Linked DNA regions of Homo sapiens: regions 1 and 2 are each linked to region 3. Evidence: promoter capture Hi-C in 16 types of primary human blood cells and fetal thymus (Javierre and others, 2016). All regions are on one chromosome and are shown on one strand. Each heading gives the region's core, a stretch centred on a gene start or on the middle of the fragment in contact. The rest is flanking DNA. Distances are from core to core; before and after follow the strand shown. Region 1 overlaps RETREG3 (reticulophagy regulator family member 3). Region 2 has its middle 19 kb from the start of AARSD1. Region 3 holds the start of COA3 (cytochrome c oxidase assembly factor 3).

Region 1 (4,464 bases), core at 1,794-4,293, 200 kb after region 3:
TCCAGCCTGGGCAACAAGAGCAAGACTCCGTCTCAAAAAAAAAAAAAAAAAAAAAGTTGGAACCTTCTTAGTTTATTTTTCGTTTATTTTTCTTTTCTTTTTTTTTTTTGAGAGAGTCTCGCTCTGTCTGTTGCCCAGGCTGGAGTGCAGTGGCGCGATCTCGGCTCACTGCAAGCTCCGCCTCTCAGGTTCACGCCATTCTCCTGCCTCAGCCTCCCGAGTAGCTGGGACTCCAGGCGCCCACCACCACTCCCGGCTAATTTTTTGTATTTTTTAGTAGAGCCAGGGTTTCACCGTGTTAGCCAGGATGGTCTCGATCTCCTGATCTCGTGATCTGCCTGCCTCAGCCTCCCAAAGTGTTGGGATTACAGGCTTGAGCCACCGTCTTAGTTTATTTTATTTTATTTGAGATGGAGTCTTCCTGTGTTGCCCAGGCTGGAGTGCAGTGGCACAATCTCAGCTCACTGCAACCTCCGCCTCCCGGATTCAAGCAGTTCTCCTGCCTCAGCCTCCTGAGTAGCTGGGATTACGGGCACCCGCCACCATGCCTAGCTAATTTTTGTATTTTTAGGTAGAGATGGGGTTTCACCATGTTGGCCAGGCTGGTCTTGAACTCCTGATGTCAAGTGATCTACCTGCTTCAGCCTCCCAAAGTGCTGGAATTACAGGTTTGAGCCACTGCGCCTGGCCCATTCATTGTTTTTTTTGAGAGAAGGTTTCACTCTGTCACCCAGGCTAGATTGCAGTGGTGTGATCATGGCTCACTGTACCCTGGAACTCCTGAGCTCAAGTGATCATTCCACCTCATGGCTGATGAGACCACAGGAGTTCATCACCACATCAGGCTAATTGTCTATGTATTATGTGAAAAAGTTTTAAAACCATAGTGTTTTTATATGTGAATTTTTTAATGAAGAGAATAGCCTGTCTTCACACTTTTTAGAGTACATATGTGGATAATGGATCATTTTAAAAATATTTTATTATGGAAAGCTTAAAACATGTGTAAGTAGGCAGAATAATATTGTGTGCCACCATGTACATAATATTATTTTTTTCAATTCCTGGCCAATTTTGTGTCTTCCATACCCCAGTTCTTTTCTACGTCTTCCTTATTGTTTGACACAAATTATTGATGTGTCATATCATTTAATCTAGGTATTTCAGTATATTTTTCTGAAAAAGAGACTTTAAGAAACATCTGCCATCATTATCACATGCAAAAAATTAATGATTCTAGTCAGTGTTCACATTTCCAATTTTCTTATAAATGTCATAAATGATACTTTTTTTTTTCTTTTCGAGACAGGGTCTTGCTCTGTCTCCCAAGCTGGAGTGCAGTGGCACAATCAGAGCTCACTGCAACCTCAACCTTCTGGCTCTAGCAATCCTCCCACCTCAGCTTCCCAAGTAAATGGGAGTACAAGCGTGCACCACCACACCTAGCTAATGTTTTTCTTTTCAGTAGAGATGAGGTCTTGCTGTGTTGCCTAAGCTGGTCTCAAACTCTTTGACTCAAGTGATCCTCCTGCCTCGGCCTCCCAAAGTATTGGGATTACAGGCTTTAGGTACCACATGTGGCCTGTTGTGTGTGGTTTTATTTGTTGTTTTTTTTTTAAACTCTTTTTTTCCCCACAAACCAATTTGTTAGTGTTTAGGTGGTTTTTTCTGTTTTGCTTTTTTGTTTTTTGAGATAGGGTCTCGCTCTGTCACCCAGGCTGGGGTACAGTGGCACGATAACGGCTCGCTGCAACCTCAGTTTCCCGGACTCAAGCTGTCATCCCACCTCAGCCTGTTGAGTAGCTGGGATTACAGGTGCCCGCCACTATGCCCAGCTAATTTTTTGTATTTTTAGTAGAGACGGGGTTTCGCCATGTTGGCCAGGCTTGTCTCGAACTCCTGACCTCAGGTGATCCACCTGCCTTGGCTTCCCAAAGTGCTGGGATTACAGACGTGAGCCACCATGCCTGTACTTTTTTTTCGATAAACATGAATTCATGTTAGTTGTATAATTTTTTTTTTTTTTTTTTGAGACGGAGCCTTACTCTGTCACCCAGGCTGGAATGCAATGGCACAATCTCAGCTCACTGCAACCTCTGCCTCCTGGGTTCAAGCGATTGTCCTGCCTCAGCCTCCTGAGTAGCTGAGATTACAGGCATACACCACCACGCCCGGCTAATTTTGTATTTTTAATAGACATGGAGTTTCTCCATGTTAGCTAGGCTGGTCTCAAACTCCCGATCTCAGGTTATCCACCCACCTAAGGCTCCCAAAGTGCTGGGATTATAGGCATGAGCCACTGTGCCCAGCCAACAACCCTATTTCAATTTTTCCAGCCTACCACCTAAAGGATACTGTGACTATATGTAAGATTAAAGAATAAAAGCAGTTTAACAGAAATAAGCCTCTAGAGCTGCCTCAGGCCATTGATCTTCTCTCTAAAGCCAGTGCATCATCCCAACAAACAAGCACATTTAACAAGGCCAAGGAGAAGAGCTCTAGGGTTTCTTGCTCCCCAGTGCTGCTGCTTCCCTTCCCCAGCAGCAGCACATGGCATCGCTGTTTTCTCCAGAGTACTTGAAAGGGCTCTCTAGGGAGGCTTGCCAGACTGTTGGCAATTTCCCCTTCCCAGAGCACGATTACTAACACAAATAGAAACTAGGGTAGGGAAAGGATATTAAGCTCTCCTAAGAAGGTTGGTTTTCCAGAGATGATGGCAATAAAAACATATCCCTTATAATAAACTGGTAAACATTAAAAAAAAAAGACTGTTTTCTAAGACCTGGACTATTTAAATTGCTTGTTACAGCCCTTACCTTCCATTCTTATAAGCTATGCTTCAATTCAATTCAACATACCTTTGAGTACCTGTTACATGCCAAGGCCTTGTGGTAAGAAGCCCAGTTACAGAAAAAAATAAGACACAAACTTTACTCTCAAGTAAATTCATGTGTGTTTGTGTTCACGATATAACGTGACAGGTAATAATAACAAACAGGAAGATATCTAAGCTGTGATTTGCAAGATAAATGTTAAGGAAATGGGGCCGAAAGGTGTGGTAAGAGAGAGAAGACATTCAGATAGGGAAAACACCAATCTAGTAAGATACTTAAGGAATTGCAAGTAGTTTGATAAAACTGAAATATAAAAAACAAAGGGAGGGAATCAGTGTGGGGAGAGAGGCAGGATCCAGATCATGAAGGCCCTTTTATGACGGGGTAATGGGATTTCATCCTGCAGATGAAGATAAGCCAATAGTTTCATAAAGGGTATATTTTCTGGGTCTTGAAGGCTAAAATTGTGAGCATCTTCCATAACAAGATTAATCCTTGTCCATAAATCAATTTTAGTCCCAGATTTATCTTTTTTTGGAACAAGCCACAATAATAACTTCAGAGGAAGAGGCCGGGTGCGGTGGCTCACGTCTGTAATCCCAGCACTTTGGGAGGCTGAGGCGGGTGGATCATGAGGTCAGGAGATCGAGACAATCCTAGCTAACATGGTAAAACCCCGTCTCTACTAAAAATACAAAAAATTAGCCGGGCGTGGTGGCGGGCGCCTGTAGTCCCAGCTACTCGGGAGGCTGAGGCAGGAGAATGGCATGAACCCGAGAGATGGAGCTTGCAGTGAGCCGAGATCGCACCACTGTACTCCAGCCTGGGCAACAGAGCGAGACTCCGTCTCAAAAAAAAAAAAAAAAAAAAAAACTTCAGAGGAAGAAGAGTTTTCTTTGTGGTATAAAATAACGTTTCTTGGCCAGGCGCGGTGGCTTATGCCTGTAATCCCAACATTTTGGGAGGCTGAGGCGAGCTGATCACTTGAGATCAGGGATTCGAGACCAGCCTGGCCAACAAGACGAAACTCCGTCTCTACTAAAAATACAAAAATTAGCTGGGCGCAGTGGCGCACACCTTAACCCCAGCTACTCAGGAGGCTGAGGCAGGAGTATTACTTGAACCCTGGAGGCGGAGGTTGAAGTGAGTGGAGATCTGTGCCACTGCACTCTAGCCTGGGTGACAGAGTGAGACTCTGTCTCAAAAAAAAAAAAAAAAAAAAAAAAAAAATATATATATATATATATATATATATATATATATATATACACACAAAATATATATATACACAAAAATATATATACGAAATATATATATATATATATACACACACACACACACACACACACACAAAATAGATTCTGGCTGGGCGCGGTGGCTCATTCCTGTAATCCCAGCACTTTGGGATGCCGAGGTGGGTGGATCACAAGGTCAGGAGATCGAGATCATCCTGGCTAACATGGTGCAACCCCGTCTCTACTAAAAATACAAAAATTAGCTGGGCGTAGCGGTGCATGCCTGTAATCCCAGCTACTCAGGAGGCTGAGGCAGGAGAATTGCTTGAACCTGGGAGGCAGAGGTTGCAGTGAGCCAAGATCACGCCACTGCACTCTAGCCTGGCGACAGAGCT
Region 2 (4,455 bases), core at 612-3,111, 150 kb before region 3:
ATGGTGCAATCTCAGCTCACTGCAACCTCCACCCCCTAGGTTCAAGTGATTCTCCTGCCTCAGCCTCCCGAGTAGCTGGGATTACAGGCGCCTGCCATCCCACCCAGCTAATATTTTGTATTTTTAGTAGAGATGGGGTTTCACCATGTTGGCCAGGCTGGTCTCGAACTCCTGACCTCAGGTGATCCGCCTGCCTCAGCCTCCCAAAGTGCTGGGATTACAGGCATGAGCCTCCGCACCCAGCCCTCTCGGGCCTCTTTTATAATGCACTAATTTCATTCACGAAGGCTCTGCCCCCGTGACCTAATCACCTGCTAAAGGGCCCACCTCCTGATACCACTTAGGGGGTTAGGATTTCAACATATGAATTTTTAGGGGTACACAAAGATTCAGAACACAGGTGCAACAACAAGAACAGTGACCTGGGAGGCCACTCTTGCTCACTACCACTCAGGTGGGTTCTTGTCACTTAGACCTAGAGCAACCATGTAATTTTAATATCCAGAGTTAGGCAAACCTCATGCCAGAACAACAGTCAGAAACCCAGACGGTGTTAAGGTAGCCTGGATGTCTGGTCCCCCTGCTGAGACTCCCTGAGCTTCAGTTTCTTGACCTGAAAATGGACACATGAACTGGGTGTCCTAAGAAGGAAGGAACCTTATGAAATAATTAAGAAAAGCCATAAACACTTGAGCAAATTATGTGAAAATGGTAATTGGTTGTATAAAGAAAGAGAAAATAAAGCAGCAGTTTTTGAACTGGTGATGTCATTCTTGCCTGTCACTGAGGCCCTAATCCAATGCCCCAGGGAGAGGGGGAGAAGAACAGAGTGTGTTCAGGGGAAGGGGTGGATTGTCTTTTATGAGGTTCACCAGGAAACAAAATGAGTTCATTTATTGGAGTAATCAAGTTTTAGGTACACACACAGGTTATATATTCTGGAATGTTACTATAACCCACTTTACGGCACAGAAATAGTAAGGGGGACTCCTTGGCTTCTAAGGAAATTTTTTTATGTGCGTACCCATAAATTGCTGAAGACAGCTGCTGTAGCTTCCACTAAGGTGATGCATGTAGGTACTAGAACAGATGTTAGTATGAAAGATGAAAGGTATCAGGTGGAAGAGACCCAGAGCAGTAGACAGACTGAATTCAGGGCCGGCGCTGTGGCTCATGCCTGTAATCCCAACACTTTGGGAGGCTGAGGCAGGTGGATCACCTGAGGTCGGGAGTTTGAGATCAGCCTGACCAACATGGGAAAAACCCCGCCTCTACTAAAAATACAAAATTAGCCAAGTGTGGTGGCGCATGCCTGCAATCCCAGCTACTCTGGAGGCTGAGGTAGGAGAATTGCTTGAACCCGGGAGGCGGAGGTTGCAGTGAGCCAAGATCGCGCCGTTGCACTCCATCCAGCCTAGGCAACAAGAGCAAAGCTCCGTCTCAAAAACAACAACAACAACAACAACAACAACAAACACACACAGACTGAATTCAGGAAGGCATTGTGCCAGTGTCCTGTGCTCCACCCTGCCTTGGAGTCCTGAGTGGAAACCAGTGAGTCGGCCAAGCTGTGCTAGAATGCCAGATCTGTCCCTGAATGAGAACTTAAATAAACTCTAGGGTTTATTTAAAACCTGGTACCAAAAGGAAAACAGACAGTGTTTGCCCTAATGAAAAAAATCTTTTTCAGAAAGCGTCTCTGTCTCCCATTCCTTTCCTGAATTTGATCCAAACTATGACTAGTGTTCTCAACAGAGGGCAAGTAGGGATGTTTGGGAACGAGTGATGGAGGAATTTCCTTCTTTCTTTAGAAAGGTCTGTATCTTCTGTGCAAAATACTACAGGCAGAGTGCCAGGCTTCAAACTAAGGAATAAGTAGGACTTAGTTAACTGACCTGGAGTTGTGTCTGGAGCAGAAGAGGCTCTCACAGGGACAGCTTTCTCTTTTGCTGAGCCATAAACTCCCTGCAGAAGTGACCTGTGGCAGAGGCCTGTTAGTAAATATCCCTGTTCATTTTAAAACACCAACCTCAAAGCCAAGAGTTTGGAGGAGGGAGAGGGGTTGAGGAGTTGTTGGTCAAAGGATACACACTTTTAGTTAGATAGGAGGAATAAGTTTTTTGATTTTTTTTTTTTTTTTTTGTCTGCTTGTGGGCTTGTTTGCTTTTTTTTTTTTTTTAGACAAGGTCTTACTCTGTTTCCTGGGCTGGAGTGCAATGGAAATCTTGTCTCATTGCAGCCTCGACTTTCCTGGGCTCAAGCGATCCTCCCACTTCAGCCTCCTGAGTAGCTGGGACTACAAGCACACACCACCGCACCTGGCTACTTTTTCTACTTTTGTGGAGACAGGGTCTTGCCATGTTGCCTAGGCTTGTCTTGAACTCTTGAGCTCAAGTGATCTTCCTGCCTTGGCCTCCCGAAGTTCTGGGATTACAGGCCTGAGCCACCTTGGTTGGCCAAGATAGGAGAAATAAATTTAAGATAACTGTAGTACTACACAATGACTATAGGTGTTTAATAACAATGTATTAGGCCAGGCGTGGTGGCTCATGCCTGTAATCCCAGCACTTTGGGAGGCTGAGGCAGATAGATCACTTGAGGTCAGGAGTTCGCGACCAGCCTGGCCAACATGGTGAAACTCCATCTCTACTAAAAATACAAAAATTAGCTGAGCATGGTGGCACACACCTGTAGTCCCAGCTACTCAGGAGGCTGAGGCAGGAGAATCACTTGAACTCCGGAGTCAGAGGTTGCTGAGCCGAGATTGCGCCGAGATTGTGCCACTGCCCTCTAGCCTAGGCAAAAGAGCAAGACTCAATCTCAAAAAAACAAAACCACTGAAAACTAATGTATTGTATTCTTGAAAATTGCAAAGAGAGTAGTTTTTTTTTTTTGAGACGGAGTTTCGCTCTTGTCGCCCAGGCTGGAGTGCAGTGGTATGATCTCAGCTCACGGCAACCTCCTTGTCCTGGGTTCAAGCGATTCTCCTGCCTCAGCCTCCCGAGTAGCTGGGATCACAGTCACCCACCACCATGCCCAGCTAATTTTTGTATTTTTAGTAAAGACAGGGTTTCACCATGTTCACCAGGCTGGTCTCGAACTCCTGACTTCAGGTGATCCACCCGCCTCAGCCTCCCAAAGTGCTGGGATTACAGGCGTGAGCCATTGTGCCTGGCCTACAATTTTATATGTATCAATTAAAATTAGTTAATTATTTAAGAGGCCAAGTGTTTCAGAAAAGAAGGGAGGAATCAACATTTTCTTCTGTGAAAATGCAAGTTCTCCCTTTCATAATACATAACTTGTGTTGTTGTTGACTTGTGCATATGATACATAATCACAGAATTCATTTGTTTATACGACAGATGTTTATTGAGAGTGTAGTGTGTGCCAAGCATTGTACCCAGCACTGGGGCCACACTGGTGAGTAATCTGGCCGTGGTCCCTGTTATGGCATTTACAGCTGTGGAGAAGGAAGATAAGAAAGAAACAATCCAATACATGTAAAAGTATAAATTCTGTTGAATCTGAGAGGAAGAGAGCAGGTAAACGAATAGAGAATAATGGGAGGAAGAGGGTAGGAGAGGGTAGTGGTGTTGTCAAAGGAGGCTGGGGGAGGATTTAGTTTTCTCATAATTTCCAGCATCCAGGCCATCTGAAATAAAGCAAACATAGTTTAATAGACAACACAATTTTTTTTTTTTTTTTTGAGATGGAGTCTCATTCTTTCACCCAGGCTGGAGAGAAGCGGCACAATCTTGGCTCACTGCAACCTCTGCCTCTCGGGTACAAGAGATTCTCCTGGCTCAGCCTCCCAAGTATCTGGGACTACAGGTGTGCGCCACCACACCCAGCTAATTTTTTGTATTTTTAGTAGAGACGGGGTTTCACTGTGTTAGCCAGGATGGTCTCAGTCTCCTGACCTCATGATCCACCTGCCTTGGCCTCCCAAAGTGCTGGGTTTACAGGCATGAGCCACTGCACCCAGCCAGCAACACAAGTTTTTAGACAAGTGTGAGACCAAGTAGCAAACATAAGCTATGTTTGCCCATTTCTGCTTGCCAGCATAATTTTCCAAAGCTTCTGACTCTGTGAAGACCTGCAGCTCTCCAGAAAGATGCTTTGAAGACAACAAAACAGAATACACAGCCCCCATGTCTCTTGTCCTCTTGCCGGAGTCACTGCATTCCTTAAAAGATGAATGACCTCCAGCCTGGGCAACATGGCAAAACCTCATCTCTACAAAAAAATACAACAATTGGCTGGGCGTGGTGGTGTGCACCTGTAGTCTCAGCTATTTGGAAGGCTGAGGTGGGAGGATTACCTGAACCTGGGGAGGTTGAGACTGCAGTGAGCCATGATTGTGCTACTGCATGCCAGCCTGGGTGATGGAGTGAGACCCTGTCTCAAAAAAAAAAAAAAAAAAAAAAAAAAAAAGAATGGCCTTAATCCCTG
Region 3 (4,635 bases), core at 554-3,053:
TCCACATGGAATGTCTCCAAACTACCTTTCCAGTATTAATTTCAACTATTCTTCCACATGCACTGGCCAACATGGACTACACTGTACCCACATGCACCCTAAGCACCCCATTTCCATAGCTTTACTCATGCTACCTCTTTTTGGTAGAAACACTGTCTCCTTCCTCCCCCTTCACCAACCCAATGTCCTCCTTCCTTCAAGGTCTGCCTGAAATGTCCCGATGCCTGGGCCATCCCCTGAATTCTTCCTATTACCCCATCGCTCCTCTCAACCCCCATAAACGCTTGTTTTATTTCTCTCTGACGTCTCTTATCTAACCATAGTACCTAGTCATTGCATATTTGTTCTAATATCTCCCCCAAATTGCACATGGTTTGAAGGCAAGACCTCTATCTCTATTTCATCTTTCTTTTCTCTTTTTTTTTTTTTTTTTTTTTAGACAGAGTCTCGCTCTGTCACCCGTCACTCAGGCTGGAGTGTAGTGGCGCCATCTCAGCTCACTGCAAGCTCCGCCTCCCGGGTTCATGCCATTCTCCTCCCTCAGCCTCCGGAGTAGCTGGGACTACAGGCGCCCGCCACCACACCCGGCTTTTTTTTGTATTTTTAGTAGAGACGGGGTTTCACCATGTTAGCCAGGATGGTCTCGATCTCCTGACCTCGTGATCTGCCCGCCTCAGCCTCCCAAAATGCTGGGATTACAGGCGTGAGCCACCGCGCCCAGCCTTTTTTTTTTTTTTTTTTTTTTTTTTTTTTTGAGACGGAGTTTCATTCTTGTCGTCTAGGCTGAAGTGCAATGGCACGATTTCGGCTCACTGCAACTTCCGCCTCCTGGGTTCAAACAGTTCTCCTGTCTCAACCTCCCGAGTAGCTGGGATTAGAGGTGCGCGCCACCAGTCCTGGCTAATTTTTGTACTTTTAGTAGAGACAGGATTTCACCATGTTGGTCAGGCTGGTCTCGAACTCCTGACCTCAGGTGAACCTCCCACCTCAGCCTCCCAAAGTGCTGGGATTACAGGTGTAAGCCACCATGCCTGGCCCTCTATTTCATCTTTCTAGCCAAGCGGTGCCACTCAAGTATTCCATACATGTCGAAGAAATCAAGGGGAGGGCACTGTTGTGACTTATCCATCACTATATCCCCAGCACCCCACAGAGAGGTGTTAGCAAACATTCTCTGAATGAATAAAATCAACGGAATCTCAAGGTCGGTGCCTGAAAGACACAAGCCCCAGTCTCCCAAGAACCCAGCACCCCGGCCCTGCAGCCGCACCCACGATCTGGGGCTCCCTGAAGCGGCCCAGCCGCCCCGAAGCCTCCCTCACTGCTTGCTCATTCTGCTGGGCCAAGTGAAGCAGGGCGTCTTCAATCGTCTCTGTGGCGACAACTCCAAACTGAAAGTCAACGAGGGAGGCCGATCGTGGCCTCATGGGTCCGTCCATATTCACGAGCCTCTTGGGGCACCTGGACGGGTTCACTGGATCCACATACCGACCCCCTTAGCTCCTCTCCAGTCTTCTGCCACACCCTGGATTCCTCGTCCCCTTCCAATGAGTGTGTCGTCGCCTCAAGTCTGAGGAAAACCCAATTACCACCACAGCCTCGAACCCTCCACAGCTTTTTCCCGCCCCAACGGCCACGGACTCCTCAGCCAATCAGAAAGCACGTCCGCTTCTCACCTCCCGCGTCCATCCCCTGTGCCCGGGAACCGCGGCTCTGCCCCGCAAAGGGCACGCGGACTACAACTCCCAGAGTCCACTGCAGCGGCCAAGGGCTACTGTTCCCAGCGAGGCCCGCGCGGCGGCACCGCGAAGGGAGGAGTGGCAACATGGCGTCTTCGGGAGCTGGTGACCCTCTGGATTCTAAGCGTGGAGAGGCCCCGTTCGCTCAGCGTATCGACCCGACTCGGGAGAAGCTGACACCCGAGCAACTGCATTCCATGCGGCAGGCGGAGCTTGCCCAGTGGCAGAAGGTCCTACCACGGCGGCGAACCCGGAACATCGTGACCGGCCTAGGCATCGGGGCCCTGGTGTTGGCTATTTGTATCCGTCCGTGTTGTAGACTCAAGGGGACCGCATATAGGGGCAGGGGAACAGAGTGTGCAAGAGGGCTGAACCACCCGTTTAATTTTGGGGTAAAATGGGTAGTACTTTCCTTTGTTATTCCTAAGGTACTCTTTTAATTTGATTTATTAATAATAACGGAATTGGGGTTCAGGGTTTAGAAACAGCAGCGGCGGGAAGCCGGAATCACTGATTTGGGAGAGTAACAAGAGTGGTAGAGCAAATCTAGGAAAGGGGAATGTGCATATTCTGTGTGGTTTCCTGAACCTACCTCCCCAGATGGTTACACCTTCTACTCGATTTCCCAGGAGCGTTTCCTAGATGAGCTAGAAGACGAGGCCAAAGCTGCCCGAGCCCGAGCTCTGGCAAGGGCGTCAGGGTCCTAATCTGGATGGGTATTGATCATGTCCAACCTGCTGGAGCCCCTTCACATGGTGGATGATGCCCCATGACCCTGTAGAAATTGAATCCTGCTCACAACATTGTTGGCCTTCTTACTAACCTTGGACCGTGATTGAGCCCAAGAAACCAGGGACTTACGCATTTGGCCAATGTCAAAAGAACAGAACTTTGCCCACTGCACACTTGCTGTGTACAATGACTGAGCCCTTTCTTGTAGTTTGTTTCCTTGTTTGAGAGGTGTGCATGCGACCGTGGCTTTTCCCAAAGTTTCTGACTTTGTGGTTTACCCCCTTCACCTTCCAGGGACGCAGTTGTTACGAGGTTAGACGTGGCAGCTCTGTGCAGTGTTTGAGCCTACAGTGGGATACATAGGGTCAAATTGAGAATAATAAACTGAGTCATTCTCCTGGAGTCAAGTGAGTATGGAGGCTGAGAGGCAGCATATGGCACTTCATGCTGGAAAGCTTCACAAGCAGTAGCTGCAGTGGTGGCATTGCCCCAGGGAGCTGTAAATGTTTAACTAGAATTACTTTTTCCATGAGATCTTTCCACCTGATTTAAGGGAGAGATCACTGGGCAGTTTGAGACTGAACCCACGTCTTAGGGGAAGGAAGGTCACTCTTCTGTCCTCTACCCACAAGAACATACTGTAACTCTACTGCTTTTCCCATCCCCAGAGAGAGGGAGGGAGAGAGAGGTGGATGAAGGGTGAAAGACAAGCAGTCTTCATTCTTTTAACTTTCCCTGGTACCTGCCTATACAGGTCTAGGGTGGGGTCTGGAGGGGATCCTAACTTAGTCAAGTGGATCACTGACCTTGCAGTTTCCTCATTAACTGATGGCAGGAAGCCAGAGGGCTGGGCAGCTTCCACCCCTGCCTCCCATTGTGAAAAGAAAGTCCCTTTTAAATCCTCCCCTGCCTCACCCCACAAGTCTTTGCTCCCCCAATTCCTAAGGCATGGCATATGGATTCACGGCGTTCTTGTTTCCAGCATTTTTATTGGTTGCTGCTAATGTGGTGTGAGCATATCCCCTACACTCTCCCAGCTGGGAGTGGGCCCCTCTAGAAGCATCCAGGCTTGGGTGGGATTGCTTAGTGGTTGACTCTTGGCAGGGGAGGTGCTAGAGATGAAGATGGTAGGCAGCAGAACTAACACCTCCACACAGCAAACAGTTCACATATGTTTGGCTCTTCACTATAATGGAGCTGCACTCTCCATGCCCCCCTGGCCTTCTACCCCTTCAGTGTTGGGATCTTCCTTGCTCAGTTTTGTTGATCAGAAAGCATCAGATTCTGAGAACACAAGCTCCATGGTGGGCCCTGGTGTGGGGGAGATACATGGCTTCTGTTCTGAATTCACTGGAGGGAAAAGAAAAAGTGATGAAGAAACCTCCAAGGTGGGAGGAAGGCGAAGCTGCAGCCAGGTACCATTCCCTGGGCTCTCCCTCCCTTGGGCCCGCCCTCACCATCCTGCCAACATCCCCGGCGAATGTCACCCCCTTGCTTGCCCGCTGCTCCTGGGAGCCGGTGCTGCTGCCACTCAGAGAGTTCCTTCGCATGATGCCTGGGAGCAGGATGGGGGAAGGAGAGCACTAAGTGAGGAAAGGGGAGGTGGGGAGAGGGGGTCTATTCCCCCGGGGCAGACCCCCAGGGCCTGGAGAAAAACAGTCGACAGAAAGGGGTCTCAGGGAAAAGATGGAAGCTGGGTGACTGCAGTCTCACCAGGGCCTGGGGGCTCAGAGCGCTGTAGGCTGTTGCGGCGGGAGGTGGGGAAGCTGCCCTTGGAGAGGCGGCGCTGGCGGCTGGACAGCATAGCAGCTGGGGCCACAATACCCGGTGGGGGCTGCTTCCCCAGCCGGCTGTACAAATCTTCAATTTCTTTTTTCTGTAGTGTCTGTAGTGTTTCCACCTCTGACAAGTGCCTGAGGATGCACGGAGGGCATGAAAGGGCTAGCCACACACCTTGCTCTCCCAGGTTCTCCTCTCACTCCTCCATCCTCCCGAGACTCACTTCTGCCGAAGACTCTGCAGCTCAGCCCAGAACTCCTCATCTTCCCCACTGCTTTCTGACTCCTCGCTGCTCAAACACAGGCTGCTGTAGGAGTAGTTCATCCACACTGGGCTGGGATGGCTCAGGGGTTGGGGGCTGCCCCCAACTTGGGGTTCCTTCCCA

The links. The method cuts DNA at HindIII sites, captures the fragments that hold promoters and counts their contacts. A CHiCAGO score of 5 or more calls a contact.
Region 1: a fragment that was not itself captured here is called in contact with the fragment with the promoter of COA3 in region 3 in 4 of 17 cell types (endothelial precursors, M2 macrophages, megakaryocytes and 1 more); the score reaches 9.0 in endothelial precursors.
Region 2: a fragment that was not itself captured here is called in contact with the fragment with the promoter of COA3 in region 3 in 4 of 17 cell types (M2 macrophages, M1 macrophages, M0 macrophages and 1 more); the score reaches 7.3 in M2 macrophages.

Annotation. Positions count from the first base shown.
Region 1 is chr17:42,597,220-42,601,683 of GRCh38, reverse strand. All of the region lies in intron 1 of RETREG3 (reticulophagy regulator family member 3), which reads left to right. Among named protein-coding and RNA genes, the nearest start is that of RETREG3, 9.9 kb to the left of the region's middle. The HindIII fragment of the contact is 4,096 bases long and covers 996-4,464 here.
Region 2 is chr17:42,943,365-42,947,819 of GRCh38, reverse strand. No RefSeq gene overlaps it. Among named protein-coding and RNA genes, the nearest start is that of AARSD1, 19 kb to the left of the region's middle. The HindIII fragment of the contact is 4,442 bases long and covers 1-4,082 here.
Region 3 is chr17:42,795,872-42,800,506 of GRCh38, reverse strand. COA3 (cytochrome c oxidase assembly factor 3) reads left to right here and starts at 1,803. Exons shown (of 2, transcript NM_001040431.3): 1 at 1,803-2,039; 2 at 2,340-2,882. The coding sequence starts at 1,826. The coding sequence ends at 2,446. CNTD1 (cyclin N-terminal domain containing 1) reads right to left here and starts at 1,646. Exons shown (of 7, transcript NM_173478.3): 1 at 1,271-1,646. The coding sequence starts at 1,439. WNK4 (WNK lysine deficient protein kinase 4) reads right to left here. Exons shown (of 19, transcript NM_032387.5): 16 at 4,474-4,635; 17 at 4,185-4,384; 18 at 3,929-4,026; 19 at 3,441-3,821. The coding sequence ends at 3,819. RefSeq lists enhancers at 1,791-1,840, 1,861-1,910, 2,051-2,120. The HindIII fragment of the contact is 5,104 bases long and covers 1-2,928 here.